Regions from separate parts of the Homo sapiens genome. Here region 1 is linked to region 2. The links are contacts of gene promoters, found by promoter capture Hi-C in human tissues and cell types (Jung and others, 2019). All regions are on one chromosome and are shown on one strand. Each heading gives the region's core, a stretch centred on a gene start or on the middle of the fragment in contact. The rest is flanking DNA. Distances are from core to core; before and after follow the strand shown. Region 1 overlaps CACNG4 (calcium voltage-gated channel auxiliary subunit gamma 4). Region 2 holds the start of PSMD12 (proteasome 26S subunit, non-ATPase 12).

Region 1 (3,497 bases), core at 41-2,540, 360 kb before region 2:
GGGTCCCTCCCATGAGATGTGGGGATTATGGGAGCTACAATTCAAGATGAGATTTGCGTGGGGACATAGCCAAACCATATCAGGGAGGTGGTGAGAGGGATCTTAAAAACTGGGTTGGAACTTGGTATCTGGCTGCCCTGGAAGAACTGTTCTCAGCCCTGGAGGTACTCCAGAAATGCATGTGTGCTCCCTCATCCTGGCCTGGTTGCCAGAAAGCACTGGTGACCTGGCAGACCTGGCAGGTGTGTGCCCTCCCAGACACTGGCTCTCTCCACCTCTCATCTCTCTCTTTCTCTCTCTCTCTCTCTCTCTCTCTCTCCATCCTCAAATAGAATAGGGAGGCAGGGAATCATAGCAGTGACAGCACTAGTTGTAGGATCAGACAGAAGCAGGTGAGAGAATCCTGGCTGTGCTACCTTGGGCAAGTTACTTGCCCTCTCTGAACCTTGGCTTTCTCATCTGTAAAATGGGTGTATAGAAGCTCCCCCTTCATAAGTTGTTTTTGAAGCTTAATGAGTAAATGGAAAGAGCTTAGCACATGCTTTGCAGGGAATATAGTTTTCAACCAAAGCCAACACTTATTAGTCCATTAGTCATGAGGCTCAGGGAAAAACAGGGTTACTTTGCTGGGCCTTCTAAGAGTCAGGGGAGCTCTGCTTCTTTTGGAAGACACAGTATTATGGGTATATGTGGACAAGGAAGAGTCTGTGTCAGTCCTGATAGGGGGCAAACCTGGCCTGCTCACTTCTGACAATAAGACCAGCTGACTCTTTGTTATTAGAACAGGGCTGATTATAACAACAGCAAACATGTTTTAAGTACATACCATGGGACAGGCACAGTGACATTTAAAAAATGCATACAATTGTTTAATCCCCCAAATCACCCTCGGTTTATCCCCATTTGTGATCCCCATTTCACAGATGGGAAAAATGAGGCACAGAGAAGTGAATTAGGACCCCAGATCATACAGCTAATAGGTGGTAACAAAGCCAGAACTCAAACCCAAGCAGAATGACTTCAGAACGTACTGTCTCTATGCTATCCAGCCAAAGGATGATCGATAGGTATTTTATCAACTAGTAGCTCCTGAATGGAGCACTGTGTTGAGGATTCAGACTGTGATCAGGGGAGAAAAGTACTGTGATTGATTAGTAATGTCTGCCATGGGCTGAGAAGGGGAAGACTCAGTTCTGTGCAGGACATTTATTCATCACCAACCACTGCACTATTGACATTTGGAGCTAAATCATTATTTGTTGGGGCAGGGTAGGGAGTCATCCTGTGCATTGTAGAATGTTTAGCACATCCCTGGTCACGTGTTGCCAGTAGCACTTCGCCCTGCAACCCCAAGTTGTGACAATCACAACTGTCTCCAGCCTTTGTCAAATGTCACCTGGGAGGCAAAATCACCCCCTGTAGAGAACCTTGCACTAGAGCAGGCAATGGACAGGGGGTAACAGAGCTCTAAACTTGAAGTCAGGTGACCAACAGTCAAAGCTTGGCTATGCCACCAATCAGCTTATCACCATGGAAATGGCCCTTCACCTCTCCAGGCAGCAAATTCTTAATATGTGAAGTGAGTGGGGTGAAGTGGATGATCCCAAGGGTCCCTTCTAGAAGTTTATGATTATCTACTATGATGCTCCCTCTCTTGCCCAGCCCCTTCAATTAAAACTCTCAGGTTATTGGAGCATAACTTCCCAGAGATCTGCAGAGGCAAACCAACGGAAAAGCTGAAATCTGCAGAGAGCTGTTTCGCCCTTTACAGCTCCCTAGTTGTTCCTCATTAAAAAAGAAAGAAAGAAATGAAGAAAGAAACAACAACAACAACAACCCTTAGTACTGAGGTTTCATCCAAGCAGCAGTTATCCAGTAGATGCAAGGAGAAAAATCACAGAGACAATAACTGAATACCCATTCCCCTGTGTTAGGAGAGAAAAGGAGCGGTTGGTTGGGGAAATCTCTCCGGCTCCGTTTAATTATGAATCTCGGCAGGAAGCCTGGAAAATCCTGGCCCTCTCTGGAACAAAGTGTTGGAGGAGGCGTGAGGCTGGTGCTGTGGGTTCTTGAAGAACTCGCTGAGCCAGATGAGACCTCAGATGAGCACCAGCCACAAGCTTCCACGCAGCGTGGGGCTGGTGCTCAGCATCCTCATCCCCGATACAACATCCTTCCTTTCCCTGGAGCCCTGTGGTCTCCAGGGAACCCATGCTTATTTTCGTGTCTTAGAAAGTGTTGCAGACCTGCGCTGAGACATGGAGTAGAGCCTGGGCTTTGGAGCCCTGGAAAAACAGGTTGGAATCTCCCTCCCCCAGTGAAGGTACAGCTGGTTGGGGGTTAGAGTTCTGCCGGTTGCAAGCACATAAACCAACTTCTCTGACTTGATCCACAAAGAGGACTTTCTTTTTTTAAGACAGGGTCTCAGTCCTGTCACCTAGGCTGGAGTGCAGTGGTATGATCTCAGCTCACTACAGCCTCGACTTCCCAGGCTCAGTTGATTCTCCCACCTCAACCTCCCACATAGCTGGGACTATAAGCGTGCACCACCATGCCCAGCTAATTTGTGTACTTTTAGTAGAGACAAGGTCTTGCCGTGTTGTCCGAGCTGGTCTCAAACTCCTGGGCTCAAGCAATCCGCCCACTTCAGCCTCCCAAAGTGCTGGGATTACAGTTGTGAGGCACCCTGCCCCGTCCCAAAGAGGAATGTATCGGAAGGATGTGGAAGCGTCCCAAAGGATGGAAGGGAGAGCTTAACAGCCAAGATGAAGGAAGGAAAGAGGCAGGAGCCTCCATATCTGGCATCCTGGACCACTCAAGAACACCATTTTAAAAACTCCCAAAAGTCCCTTAGTCCATGGGTCTCCTCTGTCTCTGATCCAAAATATACACTTCCAAGAGAACCTCTGATTGGTCCAGCTTGGGCCAGAGGTCTGCCCAGGAGCCTTGGCTGGGGGCAGGGCCATGTCATGCAGGGCCATGGGGGAAGTTCTGTGTGAAGGACTCATTCCCAGAGAAAGGGGCTCCCCAGTGGTACACCCCTGAGGACCATCAGAACCTCAGTATGGGTGTAGTGCAAGGCAGACGGCCCACTCCCTCTCCACCCACCTTCTGCCCCTCTGAATCACTGCACAGGTGCTCACAACACAAGATTCTTAGAGTCTAGGACCCAGAGTGATGTCTCCGCTTACCACACGAGCTTTGATCTCCAGGTTCCAGGTTCACAGAGAGAATTTAGAGGTAGAAATGGATTCTCTCCAAGAATCCTGCTTCCTAAGGGAACCAGAATGGGCTGCAGACAGGCCTCGGTCCCCGAGTGGATTTTGTATCAGAGTCCAGTGCCGTCTCCCTTCTGCTGATCACAAAGGTGACCTCTCTCCCAAATCCTCCACTGGCCCCATTCCAGGCTGCTCCATTGAAAGGAAACACCTTTTCGGACCTTGTAGTTCCCTGGACTGCTAGACACAGGTGGGGTCTTGGGGACAGGGCTCCTGCCC
Region 2 (3,023 bases), core at 238-2,737:
AGGAGAATCGTTTGAACCCGGGAGGCGGGGGTTGCAGTCAGCCAAGATTGCGCCACTGCACTCCATCCTGGGTGAAAAAAGTGAAACTCCGTCTCAAAAAAAAAAAAAAAAAAAGTTCAGGTTTTCACTACAATAGGCTTCTAGGCAGGACAGCATGGTGTGTGAGGGCACCAGCTCCAGAATCTAGAATCGGTCTGCCTGGGTTTGCTTCTTGGCTTCACCACTTTACTAGCTGTATGATCTTGGGGCATGTGATTCAACTTTTTCTAGCCCAAGTTTTCTTACCTGTAAAATAAGGATAATAGTAATAGCCATCGCATAGGGCTGAGGTGAGGATCAAATGGCTTAGTGCATGTAAGCACGGTGCCTGACACTGCAGAAACTACTCAACAAATATCAGTTATTGTTATCTGTCTGGCATTGGAGGCGGCTGAGTTTTCCCACCCTTATGTAACTGATGTTTGTTGATGCTAGCTGCTAGAAAGCTCTTAATGAATTTGTGGCTCCCCCTCAGCAAGCATACTGAACCTAAGATATACATACGTACCAACTTTATCACCTTTCTCCATCCTTGTTTCTTGGAAAGCCCGTTAAACTCTTATAGTGCCTACTTGTCTTTACTTCTGTAGTTCCGTCTTCAGTAATGACTCCACCCCACCTCAATCTTACTAATTCCTCAAGACCCAATACAAACGTCAGCCTTCCTGTAAAACCTTCCCTTATGGCACCATTAAGAATGCATAGCTTCCTTCTCGGTGTTCCAGTAACACTTTCCCCTTGTATGGCCCTCACCACCATGCATGACTTGACTAATTCATCACGTACATCAACTCCTAAAGGACAGGGTCCTGTGTTAGTCATCTTCGTACTATCACTTTCCTGCCCCTTCTCCTGGCCAAAGACCAGGCACATAGCCATGATCCACAAACGATGTAACGACATAAATTGATTGAGCAACAGCAACAGAACGAAACTCTCTGATCTAGCCTTAATACTGAAGCGGCCTTAACCCCTGGGAAACTACTAAGGTAAATATCACTTAAACAGCATCCAAGAAACGGCAAAAAGTTAAACGGAGCCCTAAGTCCCACGGAGGGAAGTGACCATCTGTTTTGGGGAGGGTCTGGGAAGCTATAGGCGCTGGCGTACTCCGCAGCCCTGGCCGGGCCGACCTGGGGTCTCCCACTCGTGCAGGCCCAACTAGGGCTGGACAGGCATTGGGGGGTGCACGCTCCAGCCCGCAGGCCCCCTGAGGCCTAAGCAGGCTCCGCGCCGTGACTCAGCCCCTGGCGCCCGCCAACAGCCAGCCGGCCTCTCCTCACCTTGGCTAGCTTCGCACACTCGGGTAGGCGCTGATCCACCGTGGCGCTGTAGTCCACCTCCATCTTGACGATGCGCCCGTCAGCCCGCTCCGAGCCGCCGTCCGCCATGGTCCCCGCCTGAGCGTCCCTTGCTGTCCCCCTGCTTCGGCCACCACTCGTCACCCACACCGGAAGTTGCCCGCGCACCCGCTCAGGCAGCCCATCGGGAGCCCACGCAAAGGACCCCTCGAGGTCCCCGGCGCTGGTTGCCACTCAGGCACTGCCGCGGACAGCCTGGGGGTGGGGCTTGAGGCGCGCGGGGCGGGACTCGCCACTCCAGCCTGCAGCGTCAGGTTTTGTCTCTGGGAACATCAGACTTTTTACCTAAAATTTGCGATGAGAAAAGCGAGTGTAATAGAACAGACCATCTCATATATCCCTACACCCCTGCTTCGAAATATGATTTCTCAGGACCGTGGCCAGTCGCTTTTCTTGGATCTCGGTTTTCTCATCTCTACATCAGGAGGCTAAAATAAACCTTAAAATAGAAAATTCTAAGGTTTTATCTACTTGAGAATCTTGGTGGCTTACTCTGTGGGATCTCTGAAAGCTCCTAAGAGAAGATATGGCAGCAGCTCAGTCATTTAATAAGCAAAGTGGTTTTTCTCTTTGTTTTCATTTTCACTGTAATCCACTAAGTTGGTAAAAAGAAAAGTTAAAAAGACATATTTGTTATCCCTATAGGATTTTCGTGAGCATCAAACTAGATGACATGTGAGACAATTTCAATTCTTAAGGGCCTTACACGTTTTATGTGTTATCATTCATACCATGCTGGTCCCTAGAAAATAGCTTGAGATCTTAAAAAAGCTTAGGATCCTTGAAAATGGGAATGAGGCCGGGCGCGGTGGCTCACGCCTGTAATCCCAGCCCTTTGGGAGGCTGAGGCGGGCGGATCATGAGGTCAGGAGATCGAGACCATCGTGGCTAACACGGTGAAACCCCGTCTCTACTAAAAATACAAAAAATTAGCCGGGCGTGGTGGCGGGCACCTGTAGTCCCAACTACTCGGGAGGCTGAGGCAGGAGAATGGCGTGAACCCAGGAGGCGAAGCTTGCAGTGAGCCGGCGAGATTGCGCCACTGCACTCCAGCCTGGGCGACAGAGCAAGACTCCGTCTCAAAAAAAAAAAAAAAAAAGAAAAAGAAAAGTAAAGAAAATGGGAATGAGGTTGTGTTTGGTGTGGGCATATGGTCAACAGCAGCCTGGAAAGCAAACAGGAAAACGGGAAATCTTGGAGTGGTTTATCTATTATGTTAGTGGTTCTCAATTTAATTAGTGCCGACATCGCTTTATAGATGCTGAATAGATCTCTTTGTTTGTTTTAACTGCAATGAAAATCAGGGAAAATATAAACCATCTACAAGCAAAATAAGACAATATCTCAGCTATAATCTGTAATGTAGAGGAGAAACAAATTTTACCTTTTTTTTATTTTTGTAGAGATAGCAGCTATACTACGTAGCCCAGGCTGGTCTCAAACACCTGGCCTCAAGCAGTCCTCTCACCTTGGCCTCCTAAAGTGCTGAGATTACAGGTGTGAGCCACTGTGCCCAACCAAGAAACAAATTTTAAAATAGCAAAATAATATATATTTCAAGAGATAAGGGCTAAAACATGTCTACAGTGGAAAATACAAGGAAGTAGTTATTTACACCCATAC

What was found. Contacts are between HindIII fragments. The study calls those that stand out against the background at their distance.
Region 1: a fragment that was not itself captured here is called in contact with the fragment with the promoter of PSMD12 in region 2 in 1 of the 25 tissues and cell types used here (aorta).

The regions. Positions count from the first base shown.
Region 1 is chr17:67,002,328-67,005,824 of GRCh38, forward strand. All of the region lies in intron 1 of CACNG4 (calcium voltage-gated channel auxiliary subunit gamma 4), which reads left to right. Among named protein-coding and RNA genes, the nearest start is that of CACNG4, 39 kb to the left of the region's middle. RefSeq lists an enhancer at 3,369-3,497. The HindIII fragment of the contact is 4,892 bases long and covers 1-3,497 here.
Region 2 is chr17:67,365,090-67,368,112 of GRCh38, forward strand. It overlaps PSMD12 (proteasome 26S subunit, non-ATPase 12), which reads right to left and starts at 1,488. Exons shown (of 11, transcript NM_002816.5): 1 at 1,323-1,488. The coding sequence starts at 1,430. RefSeq lists enhancers at 1,304-1,363, 1,384-1,693. The HindIII fragment of the contact is 13,722 bases long and covers 1-3,023 here.